Linked DNA regions of Homo sapiens: all the other regions are linked to region 3. Evidence: promoter capture Hi-C in 16 types of primary human blood cells and fetal thymus (Javierre and others, 2016). All regions are on one chromosome and are shown on one strand. Each heading gives the region's core, a stretch centred on a gene start or on the middle of the fragment in contact. The rest is flanking DNA. Distances are from core to core; before and after follow the strand shown.

Region 1 (2,700 bases), core at 100-2,599, 310 kb before region 3:
AAAACAAAACAAAACAAAACAAAAACAACAACAAAAAAACAACTAAGGTATGGAAGTGACAAGATGATGGTCCCCCCTCCAACACAATATGAGCAAAAACTTAAGATACTTATCTCACACTGCCTCTCAATGGAAAACAAACTTGAGGCCTTGAAAACTGATCCATTTTCCAATAAAGGAAAGCGTCCCCCCACTACTCATCAGTATTAAGGTGGGCTCAGTGTTTACTCACCCTTTTTTCTGAGCTCTGGTTTGCCTTTCTTGACTGTGGCCATCACCATGTCACCCACACCAGCAGCGGGAAGTCTGTTCAGCCGTCCCTTGATCCCCTTCACGGAGATGATATACAGGTTTTTGGCTCCTACAAAAGAATGTAAATAAAAATAAAAAATGTTGAGGGCCATCAGGCCGTTCCATCAGTATAACATTTCCCAAACACTTCCAAAGCCCCTCCCTCCACTCACTGCCCAAGCAGTTAGTCCGCAAGAACGCCTTGTCACACCACCGATTGAAGCAAACAACACATGTTGCCACTTCACCCAAAAGCGATGTTTTCACTCTCCCCTTTCTTGACGGCTCAATAGGTCATTAGCCACAGGCCCATTGAGTGCTTTTAAAAGGGGGAGTATAGCAACGTGCAAAGACCTCACCTGTGTTGTCAGCACAATTGATTACAGCTCCTACCGGAAGACCCAAGGAAATCCGGAATTTCGCACCAGAGGACCCACCACGTCCTGTGGATATAAAGGGAAGGGAAACAGGATAAAGAGATCACAATCTAGACATGGTTCGGAGTTCCCCCTCATACTCAAGCTGTAATTCACCGCACATGCTTTGATAGACTGTACGCTATAGATTAGCTCGCTCGGATTTTACTTATGCCGTCCCCATGTGCCACCCGATTCTCACGGAAAGTAGCCTATTTCTTACTATTAACACTCTGACATCGAAATTAAGAAACCTAGACGACTCAACCCTTGCTCTAACTTTCGCAAAACGCAATTACTCCTGCAAGGCATAAAACCGCAGAGGTCGCGCAAACCAGGGCCTAATCCAGTCTAACTTCAACCCCATTACGATAGCCCTATTCGCGGAGCGATCTCGCGGTATCCAGACTACATTCACGTCGGGATCCTGCCATCTCAACTCTCCAGCACCCCACTGCCACTTTCGAGGGCCCTGGCAGTGCTCTCGCGGTGGCCTGGCTCTCTCTCTCCGGCCTGAAGGAGAGCAAAGCGCCCCAGCTGCCTAGGGCCACCGCTCCTGACGAATCCGCCAGCCACTGCACGACAGATGGTGGAGGATCCTCCAGAAACAAAACCTCACCTCGCTTCGACATCTTGAACGCCGGAAAAAAGAAAAAAGGAAGTCGATTCAAAGGACACTGGGATATGAACTTTAACGCCCCGCCCACCCTCCTCACGTGGCCGGAGCAAAAACCGGCCTCTTCCGCCTCTGGGCGCTGCCTTATTACGTAATAAGTTTACGACGTCGCTTTTAGCCCTCTCTGCGAAGTGGGAGTTGAGGTAGAAGCGCAAGAGATAGGAAGTATCTTCTCTACGAGCTTAAGAGTAGTTAGGGACATGGAAACAGTGATTTGTTAACTTGCTCACGACCTCTTTTGACCACTTAATAGTGCCAGGCACTTATCTGCACACTAGAGAATAGGAATTAAAACACGGTTTGTGCCGTGTGGGGGTTCCCCAAGGAACAAAGAAAGTGGGGGAGGGAGGGAGAACAAGCTCTAAACGGTTTCGTTGAATGTAATACAGTTGAGAAGTGCTGCAGATCATTCCATCTATGTGTTCTTGGTATCATACCATTCTGTATTTTACATATACAGTATTGCTCTATTTATTGACCCGTCCCCCCCAACACACACTCTTTTTTTCTTTTTTTGAGACCGAGTCTCACTCTGTCGCCCAGGCTGGAGTATAGTGGCGAGATCTCAGCTCACTGCAACCTCCGTCTTCCGGGTTCAAGCAATTCTCTGTCTCAGCCTCAGAGTACCTGAGACCACAGGCGCCCGCCACAACGCTGGGCTAATTTTTGTATTTTTAGTAGAGACGGGGTTTCGCCATGTTATTGGCCAGGCTGGTCTCGAACTTCTGATCTCAAGTGATCTGCCCGCCTTGGTCCCTCAAAGTGCTGGGATTACAGGCGTGAGCCCCCGCGCCAGGCCTAATTGCTCCTTTCACAGCTTCAGCCGCCCCTTATTCTCTGGGTTCTTTCCTTCCCACGATACATTAATTCACATACTTATTGAGCTCCTACTTTACAGCAGGTTCTGTCCAGGGCGTACAGCGGATTACATCAGAGAACAAAATAGATCAACATTCTTTTCCTTATGGAGCTTACATTCTGCTGGGGTGCAGGTGGAGGAGGATATTAGACACTAAACAAAAGATATAATAAGTAATTGCAGTATGTAGTATGTTAGATGGGGATATGTATTATAAAAATATAAATAGTATCGCTTCTCGGCCTTTTGGCCAAGATCAAGTGTAAAATATAAATAGTGGCCGGGCCTTGTGGCTCACGCTTGTAATCCCAGCACTTTGGGAGGCCGAGGCGGGTGGATCACGAGGTCAGGAGATCGAGACTAGCCTGGCCAACACAGGGAAACTCCGTCTCTACTAAAAATACAAAAATTAGCTGGGCGTGGTGGCGGGCGCCTGTAATCCCAGCTACTCCGGAGGC
Region 2 (2,700 bases), core at 21-2,520, 460 kb after region 3:
CCCAGATGCTGGGGCTGGGAGTGGAAAAGCTGCAGGAGGATTGGGGGTTTCAGGCCTGAGAGTGACCAGGAGAGAGGACGCCAACACAAACAGAGCCCCAGGAAAACATGCATGTACACGTCTACACACACCCTCTCAGTGCTAGACAGAAGCATTCAGACCCTCTGCACAGCTCCAAGGAGGGAAACAGCAGCTCCTGCAAAGGCACCCAAGGCCCGGACAAATAGACCAAATAGACAGGGACATTCCACCCACAGGGCCAGCTCCTCCCGCTCCCGCTCCAGAGACACACACAAATACCTCTGGAGAGAGAGAGGCTCACACCTGTCTCCCCCAACCCTGCTTCTGAATGCACCAAATTCATGCACGTGATGGCACGTGTACAGGCAGCCCCCAAACCCACCCCAACTCTGGGCCGGCCCTGTCCTCCCCACCCCATTAGATCCGGAGAGGAAAGACAGGAGCCACGTGAATCTACAGTACATCATGGCAGGGCACATTCCCCTTCTCCCTCACAGGAGCGCTCACACATCCACAACCTCATACCCCAGCAACTGCACAGCGGAGCTGTGGATACAGTCCCCCACCCCCTGCAAGCTGGCACACGCCTGCCCATCACCTTGACAGCCTCTGACATCCTCCCCCACACCCACACCCTCCCCCGCACACACGCAGTCCTCCCACACCCTGCCACTCACACCTGCATCTTTGACACTCTGACACACTTACACAGACACACTCACACCACACCGGACCCCCCAAAACACACTCCCTGGCTATGGGCACCACAGGGCCCCGGCACACCCCTGCACACTCTCCCTGCCACGATGACTGACACGTGTCCTCCCACACACAACTCGGTCACACTCGCTCCCTTTCCAGGACACCCCCATTCACAGCGTGACAGGCTGGTACTCTCCCCACGACCTCGCAGGCCTCTCTGAAACTCCCAGTACCAGGACCACGAAGGGGTTAAAGCCAGAGTCCTGCCTCCCCGCTGCCCCTCTCCCCCTCCCTCCCCCTTTATCCTCTCTGCTGGACTCCATCAATAATGCAGCTTCAAGTTCTGGGGAGACCGCAGGGGGCCCCCCAGCTGGCTCCCCAGGCCTTGGCTCTAACTCCCACCCTCCTCCCAGCCCCAGGAGAACACGATTCTCCATGCTCATTGGCCAGTTTCCCCTAAACCCTCCCTCCGAGCACCCGGGCGCCAGTCCCAGGCGGAGGGGACGGGCTGGGGACCCCAAAGCTGGGACCGGAGGGTGAGCCCGGCAGAGGCAGAGACACACGCGGAGAGGAGGAGAGGCTGAGGGAGGGAGGTGGAGAAGGACGGGAGAGGCAGAGAGAGGAGACACGCAGAGACACTCAGGAGGGGAGAGACACCGAGACGCAGAGACACTCAGGAGGGGAGAGACACCGAGACGCAGAGACACCCAGGCCGGGGAGCGCGAGGGAGCGAGGCACAGACCTGGCTCAGCGAGCGCGGGGGGCGAGCCCCGAGTCCCGAGAGCCTGGGGGCGCGCCCAGCCCGGGCGCCGACCCTCCTCCCGCTCCCGCGCCCTCCCCTCGGCGGGCACGGTATTTTTATCCGTGCGCGAACAGCCCTCCTCCTCCTCTCGCCGCACAGCCCGCCGCCTGCGCGGGGGAGCCCAGCACAGACCGCCGCCGGGACCCCGAGTCGCGCACCCCAGCCCCACCGCCCACCCCGCGCGCCATGGACCCCAAGGACCGCAAGAAGATCCAGTTCTCGGTGCCCGCGCCCCCTAGCCAGCTCGACCCCCGCCAGGTGGAGATGGTAAGGGGCCCGTGCCCCACCCCGGCAGCGTACCCGACACACCCCGCGGGGCTTCTTCGCCCTCCCAAGGCGCTGCCCCGGCCGGACTGGCCTGGGGGTGGGGGCGCAAGGAGAGCCGGGCTCTGCCTCGGTCAGGACGGGGCGCGGGGCCGCGTGTGAAGTTAGCTGGAGACTCGTGCAACTTTTCCCCGCGGCTTTGGTCCTGATCCCGGGGCAAGAGAGTTCCTGGCAGTGAGGCTGGGGGTGCGGGGGTGGGGGGACAGGCCGATTCCAGACCGCCCAGGAGTGGGGTGGGGGCGTCCTTTGGTCCCAGCACAGTCCCCAAAGGGTAGTCAGTCTCCTAGGCTACCACCGGGACCGCTCCGCCTGGCTCTGTCCCAGAGCTGGTCAGATGTGAGCAGCGGTGGACACTGACCTTGTCACCCAGGGCAGGAGTATGAGGCTGCCACCGGGTGAATCCACTACCCTGCCCCTCTCTAATCCCGCGTGTGTGCCTGGGCTGGGGTCTCCAGAACCTGGCTCTGGCCTCCTGCTGTCAGGCCCCAGAGCCCCAACCCCAAGGAGGGAGAGGTGGGGAGTCATCACAAAGCCAGACCTCTTCCCACAGACTACTGAGTCCTCCTGAGGGCCTTCTTGGGGGTTGAGGGGCTTCCAAAGGCTGGCGGGTGCTGTGACAGAGAGCTCCACTTCCCATCCCTAGTGGAGCAGGGGTCACTTGTTGCTGAGCTGAGATGCAGCTGGCTCCCCACTGAGCAGTGATGAGGGGGCCAAGTCATTATGGGGGGAGATAGAGGGCAGGGGGTACAGTCCTGGGCCTAAGCAGCTTTGGGTCATGAGGGTGTCATGGGGAGCTTGGCTGGGGAGGTGGCAGTTTCAGCTTAACTCACCTGGTTCTCTTTGTGCATTTC
Region 3 (2,700 bases), core at 122-2,621:
AGAGCAGGGAGGCAGTTTGGGACACTTGGCAGGCCTGGAGCTGGGTTTGGCAGGGCCCCCGGGAAGATGGAGGAAAGCAGTGGGAGCTAGGGTTGCCTGTACGGTGCAGGATTTGAATGCCAGACCGAGGAGCCGCAGTACTAGGAAGGTCCAAGCAGCGTGCCCAATCGCTCCTCCGGACTACAGAGGAGCCCGGGAACCCAGGGAAGAGCTCCAGTGATTGGTCCCCCTGCCTGTCAGTCTGGTGGGAGGCCCAGCTCTCTACCCTCCCCGCCCGAGAGTCACTTACAACCGGTAGAGAATGGTGGTCTTTCCTTCATTGTCCAGTCCCACGATGATGACCGTGTGCTCTGGAAGCGTCGGAGGAAGGGCAGCGTCAGGGCCAAACCCGAAGACCAAGGGACTGTGTGCCCCCACCAGACCTCCCAGGAAGGAGATAGCGCTCCCCGCAGGCTGGGGACCTCTGCCCACCGTACCGCGTCTGCTTCCCACCCAGCTCCGACACCTGCCCCACTCCGGGACGGTGGAAAAGACAGCTGAGCCCCCACCTCCCTTCACATTCCAGAAAAGTGTCTGAAAGGCCCGGGGCGCTTCGGGGCTTGCCAAGAGACGGTGTTTAGAGAAAGAGCATAACGCGAAGTCACAATCGCAGGAAACTCGCAGCAGCCCCCCATCCCCGCCGCTGGCTCCGTTTAGCGGGGAGAAAGGAGGGTCGCCCAGCTTTGCGTCCTGGGGCGCACCGAAGCGCCGGGACCCAAGAGGAGCAGGCAGGGACGGGGGCAGGGGAGGCCGCGGGGCAGTCGAGGAGCGCCCATATACGACCCTCGGAGCCCGAGGTCCCCCCGTGCGTCCGACCACAGATCAGAGGAGTCCCAGAAGAGGGCGAGATCAAAGCGCTCGCTTGGATGCCCTGTGCGCCCCTTACCCTGGTTCCCGAAGATGCTCATTAACTTGGCGATCAGCTGTCCCATGGCACTTCCCGGGCCGGACAGGTGCAGGAGGGCTCAGCGGCCTCAGGAGCGGAGTCGGCCCTGGTATTCGGAGCTCCGCTCCCCCGGGAGGGTCTGGCAGATTTTGCCTACGAAGTTAGGGAAGCCCCACACGTCACCAACCTGACCTGGGAACCCTCTGGGACGCTGGCCCTTCGTGGGCACTATGGACACCCCAGTGACTAAGGGCTGCCTGTCCCGGGCCCAAGAGGTGCAAGGAATATGGGGGTTCCAGGCTCCAGCCCTCCCCCTCGCCCTGCGAAAACTCCTGAGTTCTCCGGGTGGACTGCTCCACTACCGCAAATCAGGGGAGACTCAGCACTGCGCGCGGAACCGGATCCCAGCTCTCCCTCCTCTGAGTGCCATGTCTAGGGCACTAGACTGAAGCAAAACCCCAGGCGACCCACTTTCTGTACCTACCAGCTGTGTAGTACAGACAGGGCTCACCGATCCTCTCTGAGCTGGGAGAATATTCCAACCCTCCACAGATGTGCAGTTGGTTCACTAGCGTGGGTCTTGTGGGCCCACTCAAATTGCATTCCCCTGGGGAAGGGCAGGGTCTCCCCTTGATGCTTGGCAACTTCTAGGATAAATCAGTACTCCTACAATTCACGGACAAACCTACTGCCCAGGCACAGCTTCCTGATCCCCAAAAGTGGGCGCCTGAAGACAAGGATGGAGCATGAAGAGAGATCCTCCGGCTGGAGACCCTGCAGAGAGGCCCCAGATACCTGGCAGAGGAGTACATGGGCCAACAGAGAACCAGGAGGCCAGGCCTGAGGAGGGAATGGAAGGTGGAGTTTCCTGCTGTTGCTTGTGAATTTCTTTCTTTGCTTAAGCTGGGGGGAAAAAAACAAAAAATCAGATAACAAAAGGAGAAGTCCAAAAGGCAACGTGCCCTCAGGCTGCAGGAATGGTTAGCAGGAGATCCAGCCAACACACCAGGGAGCCAGCTCCTTCCACCCGACTGTACTGCCTTCCTGCAGCCTCCACTAAGGTAACAACCCTCCATTAAGGTAACAACTTTCTAACTGGTCTCCCTGCATCTTCCTCTCCTTTCCCAAGGCATCCTCTCCATGGCCCCTATTAACCTTCCTAAAGCACAGCTCAGGGTCTGTAACTCCCCCAGCTCATAGATCTTCAATGGCTCCCTATTGCTCACTGGATTCAGATCAGTCTCCACTTGACATTCAAGAGCTTCCACGAACAGCCCCCACCTGCCTTCACAGGTTTATCTCCCAGGCTCTGTATCTACTGGTTCCTGCCTATACATGCCTGGCTCTTTCTGATGGTGCCTTTGCTTCTGCATTTCCTCCTTGAGTGCCTTTCACCTTCTCAGAAAGGAGAATGCCTGAGACCCATTAGCTGCCCTGCCATAAAAGCCACCTGCTTCCCCAGCCCTGACTTGGTTCTCCAGCCACATGGGGCTTCTCCCTACACTGGGCTTATAGACGGGCAAGTCTGTTTCCTCCCATCAACTGTGAGTACCAGGGTGGGATTCATATATTGTTAACCAGCATATGACCTCCCCCGCCAGCCCAATCACTCCCTGCCTGGTCCAGAACCCTGCACACAGGAGGAATGTGTTGCTGTCAGACTGATGTAGAATGAGTTAAGCTACAGCCTGAGAAATGGCACTTGGAGTATTAAAAAAGGAATGTGAACACAAGTTTAAGAGGATTGAGGAAGGCTGGGAAGTTTGCGGGAAGAA
Region 4 (2,700 bases), core at 60-2,559, 290 kb before region 3:
ATGCACTCCATAAATGGAGGCTCAGGTAGCCCATGTGGCTCATCTCCCTCTCTTAGAGCTGAAATTCACATCCACAGTTCTTTCTGCTCAGCTCTTCTGCCAGTGTGTTTGCAGAAAGTACTTTTATTTATACATATTTATATTTTATTTACATCTCATTTGTGCCAAAAGTAGGTCCCATCCCTTCCTGACCCTATCTGGAGGAATGCTCTGGGCCTGGGGTCTTGTATGGGGGCGTGGGGCCACTGGGAATAATCCTGTCCTCCTCGGAATTTGTGGAGGTGCAGCAAAGATCTATGCCTTTAAGCCAGCGGGTCAGGTGGCCAACCAAGCTAGGCTGGTGCCCCGGCCAGGGTGGGGCTGGCATTGCCTCTGCAGGAGGGAGAAACTGTAACCCTGGGCAACAGGAAGGGAAGAGATGGTCTCATAATCCATCCCTGAGTCATGGCCACCCCAGGTAGCCTGGGTTCAGAGGCCAAGGTGCCAGGCTGCAGGCACAGTGACACGAAGCTTGCCACATCCCCCCCAACCCAGAGCCACAGAGGGACAGGCTGTCCCAAGTGAGGGGTATCCTTGCAGGCTTCTGCCCCTACCAGCCTGTTTACCTTTCTTTAGAGTGGGTTGCAGGTAGGCAAGGGAAGATCAAGATGACCCTGCCTTGGAGCCTCGGATCCAGGCTGAGAGGCCTCTAACAGGCAGCAGAGGTAGGGTCTGTCTGGTTTCTGTGAACAGGGAAGCCATGGACTTTGCAGGCAGCAGGAAGGGGCAGAGGTGCATGCCTCGAGGTGCAGTTTCCTTGAGTCCTGAGGCCCAGGAATGCTTCGCTGAAATCATCTTGCCTGGGGCCTTTAAAAGAGGGGGGCTCTTGCTCTGGGACAGAGCCCATGGGGCAGGGCAGAGGCAGACGGGGTCACTGTGGGGTCCTCTGGACATATTTCCCTGACAGTGTCCTTCCCCAGACCCCATTGAGACAAGGCAGGAGTTCTTTCATCTTAGGGTCCAGGCTTGGCTCACAGCGGTTGTGGAGGGACTGGCCATTTTCTGCCTCCCCTCCCCACAATTTTCCTACCCCAAAAAGGACACAGTGGAAGGAGCTGGTGGGTTTTCTTGAACCTTGGGGCCTTCCTCCAGAGAGGGTAGGGGAGTCGCCTGAAGCTGCTGGAGGTGCCAAGCATTAGGGGTGGAACGGCCTCCTCTCCTGACCTTCCAGCACTCTGGGAGACAGTGGCTGCAGCTCCACTTGACACTTGTGCTTCATAGTAACTGGTTTCCATGTTTCTGCTCAGAGCCCCCTGCAGGGGGACAGGCGACCACCCTCCTCTGCCCCACCCTTGGGTGTCTGGATGAGAGTGTGGGGCCTGTGAGGGAGGTGGGAAGGAGCTACTGATAGAAATAGGTGCCATCCCCTAGAAGAGGGGCTCTGCTTCCTCCGCGTGGCAGCCTGGAGGGGTCTTTGGAACCACTGGGTCCAGTGTTGGCCCTGTGCCCCCTGCCTGCTCAGTACACCCCACCCTCCTTCTCCAAGGGGCTTGGCTCCGGGTGCAGGCCTGGCCATCTGGAGTAGGGGTCTCTCTCCCTTTGTCTCCCCAACGTCAATCAGGAGGCAGCCTTGGAGGTCCGTGGTCCTAGGACAGTGTGTAGCCCTTCGTGTGTGTGTGTGTGTGTGTGTGTGTGTGTGTGAGAAAGTGGGTCATGGTCTGGATTCTGGAGAATGTTTTTCCTGGCAGGCCCCTGTGGGGGTAGGGGGAGGCAGGGGCCCAGGCAGGGGCCTAGGCAGGGGCCTGTGCAGCTAAGTAGGCAGAGGCCAGCAGACTGGGTGGTGACCAGGCTGGGGCACCCTGCCAATGCCTCCCAGTTACTCGGGGAGGGAGTGGGGCTGTCACTTCAGGGGCCTGTGGGGGCAGGGACCAGCCTGTCTTAGTGTCCCTGGTGGGTTCTGTGTGTTGGGGTATGCACCACTTCAGGGGCCTGTGGGGGCAGGGACCAGTCTGTCTTAGTGTCCCGGTGGGTTCTGTCTATTGGGTTATGCACCAGAAGGAGTCTTTAAGTTGCCTCATAGGAGTTTGGGGGCCCTGGGTCACTGGGATAGGCCCAGGTTGGGGAGGGGGCCAAGCTTAGACCCGCCACTTCTTTGCTTCCAGACTTCCGGCTGGCCGTCCTCCCCAAGAGTGGTTCTCCTAGCATTCTGTTTAATATTCCACCATTAGGTTTTTCCTTTGGGTCTTCTTGATAGGGAACCAGTACCCTATTAGAAGGTGATTTCCCCCTGAAATTACCCTGGGGGTCTCTGGTTGAAGTGGGCCATGGTAGGGAGGTTGAATCCCAGATTCTCAGCCTTCTTTCTGCTATCCCCTCCTCCCAGTGTCTCAGAAGCACCTCTCCCTCCGGGGGTTTGGAGACAACATTTTGAAAAGCATCGCCTTGGGGGAATTCCTTGACAAATGGCCAAGAACCAGCTCTGTGGCTGGGCTCCTTCAAAAGTCCCCCTGGGCCTGCCTCCTGGCCTCCTTCTTTTGGAATGGGGAATGTCTCCCTTGACTACTGGGAAATGGGGCAGGGACAGGCCAGCCAGGTCACTCAGGTGGCCTGGATTATTCTGGGGTCCTGGCAGTGGACCCCTGTTTGGTGGTGATCCAGCACATCATCCTGGGCTTCTGGGGGTGAATTTAGATCCTGTTGTCATGGGTTTGCCTAAGCATC
Region 5 (2,700 bases), core at 136-2,635, 270 kb before region 3:
GTTCCCAGGAGGGCATGCTCTGTGAGAAGCCCAGAGGCTCCTGCCCCTCCCCCAGAGTCACCCCCACTCTGTTTTTTCTGTCCTGCAGACACTACCCCAAGCAGTCCTTCACCATGGTGGCGGACACCCCGGAAAACCTTCGCCTCAAGCAACAGAGTGAGCTCCAGAGTCAGGTGAGGGGCTGGGCGGTGCTGGGGCCTGGCAGGGAGGGATGCTGGGGAGGGAAGTTGTAAGGTCGGCATTTGGCAAGAGTACCTTCCCCTGCGGTTACTCTGCAAGGCCAAGGTGCTGAAATCCTAGCATTGCCTTTAATCTTGACCCCACCCCTGACTTTATCAAAGGAGCAGGGTAGAGCGTTCTCCCACTTCCTACCTAGAGGGGGTTGGAGAGGTGTGGGTGTCTATTTGAGCCCGCTCTGGGGCTCCCTAAAGCCTACCTCCTCCAGGAAGCCACTCTCCCCTCCCTCTTCCCCATTCACACTCACCCACAAAGGAGGGGTTTGGGGAGGACCAGGGAATTTGCCCCTCCAGGTCATGCCAGTCTGAGGCTGGGCAACCAACCCTCTATAGCCGCGTCCCAAACCTCCACCCACTGAAGGGCAAGGTGTGAAGGGGGCCCTGCCATGGGGGCACAGGATAGGGGGCTGTTCCGCCTCTGTCTCCTTTGGCTTGACTTTCCAGAACACTGCTGAGTGGGAGGTATGTGCCCCTGTAGGAGGGGAGGACGGGTTCCAGGCCTAGGGAGAACTTGGTCTTTAGGGGACACGGAGGAATAAGCAAAGGGTCTGGAGTCCTGAGAACAGAACAGCTGACCCACCCTGCCTGGGGGTGCGAGGGCTCCTGGGACAAACCTGGCCAGTGATGAGGTGGGGTGGGGTGGGGCGGGGCTTCAGCCGATGAAGGATTAGGCGCGAGAATACATGTAGGGGAATTTACCACGTGGGCAGCGCGCCCAGGACCCACTCAGGATCGGGAGAAGACTGCAGAGGTTCCACCCGGGCCACAGAGGGGATCTCTCCCAGTTCCTCCAGAGGGGACTCCTGCTGCCTGATCTTGATGTGACTGCCCGGGTCCATCAGGGAGAACCGACCCTGCCTTTTGTCAGGCTTTCCATGCACCCTCTCTCAGCATCCTCCCAGCAGCCCTGTGAGGAAGGTGCTATCTTCCCCATTGTTACAGATGAGGCGACTGAGGCCCAGCGACTTTGAGGGACTAGCTGAGGTCCTGCGGGTAGGAGAGGCAATAATAATATTCACAGCTGACGATGGAGGGCTCAGTGCTCCCGGCGTGTGAGCTCGTTTAATCCTCACCCAGCCCTGTGCAGCTGTAGCATCACTTCACTTCAGAGAAGAGGAAATAGACACTGGCAGCTTTGAATGTAGGTTTGTCTAACCCAGGGACTATCCACTCCCCAAGAAACAGTCTCTACCTTAATAATAAACATGATAGTTCCTTATGCTGTTGAGAAGTTTTGTAGTTTAGGGCTGGGAGCCATGGCTCACGCCTGTAATCCCTGTGCTCTGGGAGGCCAAGGTAAGAGGATCACTTGAGCCCAGGAGTTCGAGACCAGCTGGGGCAACATAGCAATACCTGGTCCCTAAAAAAAAAAACGAGCAGAGATGGTGGTGTGCACCTGTGGTCGTAGCTACTTGGGAGTTTGAGGCGGGAGTATCACTTGAGCTGAGGAGTTGGAGGCTGCAGTGAGCCATGATCGCACCACTACACTCCAGCCTGGGTGATGGGGTGAGACCCTGTCTCTAAAAAAAGGAAAAGCAAGAAATTGTGTAGTTCAGCAAGTGCCTTTAGTTAGTTCCCCTGTTTATCCTTGACTGGGTTCTGGGAGAAGGTAAAAGACCCAGCGTCTCTGTCTTACAGATAGGGGAACCGAGTGAGTGAATGCGGATCCAGGATTTGGGCCCTGGTCTTGTCACTCCCAAGTCTGGGGCCCTTGATGCTGCACAGCCCTGGTAGGGCCTGAGGCTCACAGAGGAAGAGAGCAGCAGCTCACACCTGCCACCCACCCACCTGCGGCACAGAAGCTGAAGTTACTAGGAAGCAGGGAACACCACAGCCTGCCTGGCCATATTTTACAGATTCTAGCCAGGCCCTGACTCCTGCCTTCAATTCCCTGCCCTGTGGAAGGGCCATGGGGGCCAGAGGTGGAGGGGCTCAGAAGGACCTCGGAGAAGAGGTGCTGGGAGCAGATAGCAGGTCTTTGGAGACACACACACACACACACACACACACACACACACACACACCCTTCTCAGGGGAGAAATTCAAACCCCTCAGCCTTTGTCAGTTCCACAAAAGCGTGGCTGCAGCTCTTTTTGCCCCGGCACCCTATCCCCGAGGGGTGGGGTTTGAGGAGGAAGCACCTCCACGTTGTTCCCCCTGCCCAGGATGGGCAGCAAGTGGGCAGGGCATGCTGTTGGCAGGGGCTGCTTCTGCCCCCCACAGGGGAAGCCAGCACCACGCTCTGGGTTTGGGGGCTCCTGTCCCTGGCCTGTGCCCCCTGCTTCCCAGGGTCATAGCCTGCTGGGTTCCCGGGGGGGCCTCTTGGGAGATGAAAATGGCGGTCACTCTTCATTAGGGCCTCACTGAGGGCCAGAGCGTGTCCGTGTGTGTATGTGTGTGTGTGTGCGTGTGCACGCATGCACGCGTGTATGTGTGTGTGTGTGTGTGCAAGCATGCACGCATG

The links. Contacts are between HindIII fragments. The CHiCAGO score rates a contact against its expected background, and 5 or more counts as called.
Region 1: the fragment with the promoter of RPL23 here is called in contact with the fragment with the promoter of ARL5C in region 3 in 4 of 17 cell types (naive CD4 T cells, total CD4 T cells, activated CD4 T cells and 1 more); the score reaches 7.5 in naive CD4 T cells.
Region 2: the fragment with the promoter of PPP1R1B here is called in contact with the fragment with the promoter of ARL5C in region 3 in 2 of 17 cell types (neutrophils and endothelial precursors); the score reaches 5.2 in neutrophils.
Region 4: a contact is called between a fragment that was not itself captured here and the fragment with the promoter of ARL5C in region 3, in 7 of 17 cell types (fetal thymus, activated CD4 T cells, total CD8 T cells and 4 more). The highest score is 9.1, in fetal thymus.
Region 5: a fragment that was not itself captured here is called in contact with the fragment with the promoter of ARL5C in region 3 in 6 of 17 cell types (naive CD4 T cells, activated CD4 T cells, non-activated CD4 T cells and 3 more); the score reaches 8.0 in naive CD4 T cells.

What each region holds. Positions count from the first base shown.
Region 1 is chr17:38,852,372-38,855,071 of GRCh38, forward strand. RPL23 (ribosomal protein L23) reads right to left here and starts at 1,350. Exons shown (of 5, transcript NM_000978.4): 1 at 1,327-1,350; 2 at 651-734; 3 at 233-361. The coding sequence starts at 1,339. It overlaps SNORA21 (small nucleolar RNA, H/ACA box 21), which reads right to left and starts at 624; the gene lies at 492-624. RefSeq lists enhancers at 203-986, 297-1,496, 987-1,770, 1,494-1,603. The HindIII fragment of the contact is 31,460 bases long and covers 1-2,700 here.
Region 2 is chr17:39,625,682-39,628,381 of GRCh38, forward strand. PPP1R1B (protein phosphatase 1 regulatory inhibitor subunit 1B) reads left to right here and starts at 1,271. Exons shown (of 7, transcript NM_032192.4): 1 at 1,271-1,792. The coding sequence starts at 1,712. The HindIII fragment of the contact is 16,288 bases long and covers 1-2,700 here.
Region 3 is chr17:39,164,790-39,167,489 of GRCh38, forward strand. ARL5C (ARF like GTPase 5C) reads right to left here and starts at 1,372. Exons shown (of 6, transcript NM_001143968.1): 1 at 926-1,372; 2 at 290-350. The coding sequence starts at 971. RefSeq lists enhancers at 199-1,000, 1,001-1,802. The HindIII fragment of the contact is 4,701 bases long and covers 1-2,700 here.
Region 4 is chr17:38,873,410-38,876,109 of GRCh38, forward strand. All of the region lies in intron 1 of LASP1 (LIM and SH3 protein 1), which reads left to right. Among named protein-coding and RNA genes, the nearest start is that of LASP1, 4.7 kb to the left of the region's middle. The HindIII fragment of the contact is 1,603 bases long and covers 509-2,111 here.
Region 5 is chr17:38,890,332-38,893,031 of GRCh38, forward strand. It overlaps LASP1 (LIM and SH3 protein 1), which reads left to right. Exons shown (of 7, transcript NM_006148.4): 3 at 89-173. Among named protein-coding and RNA genes, the nearest start is that of LASP1, 22 kb to the left of the region's middle. RefSeq lists an enhancer at 2,569-2,700. The HindIII fragment of the contact is 3,399 bases long and covers 1-2,700 here.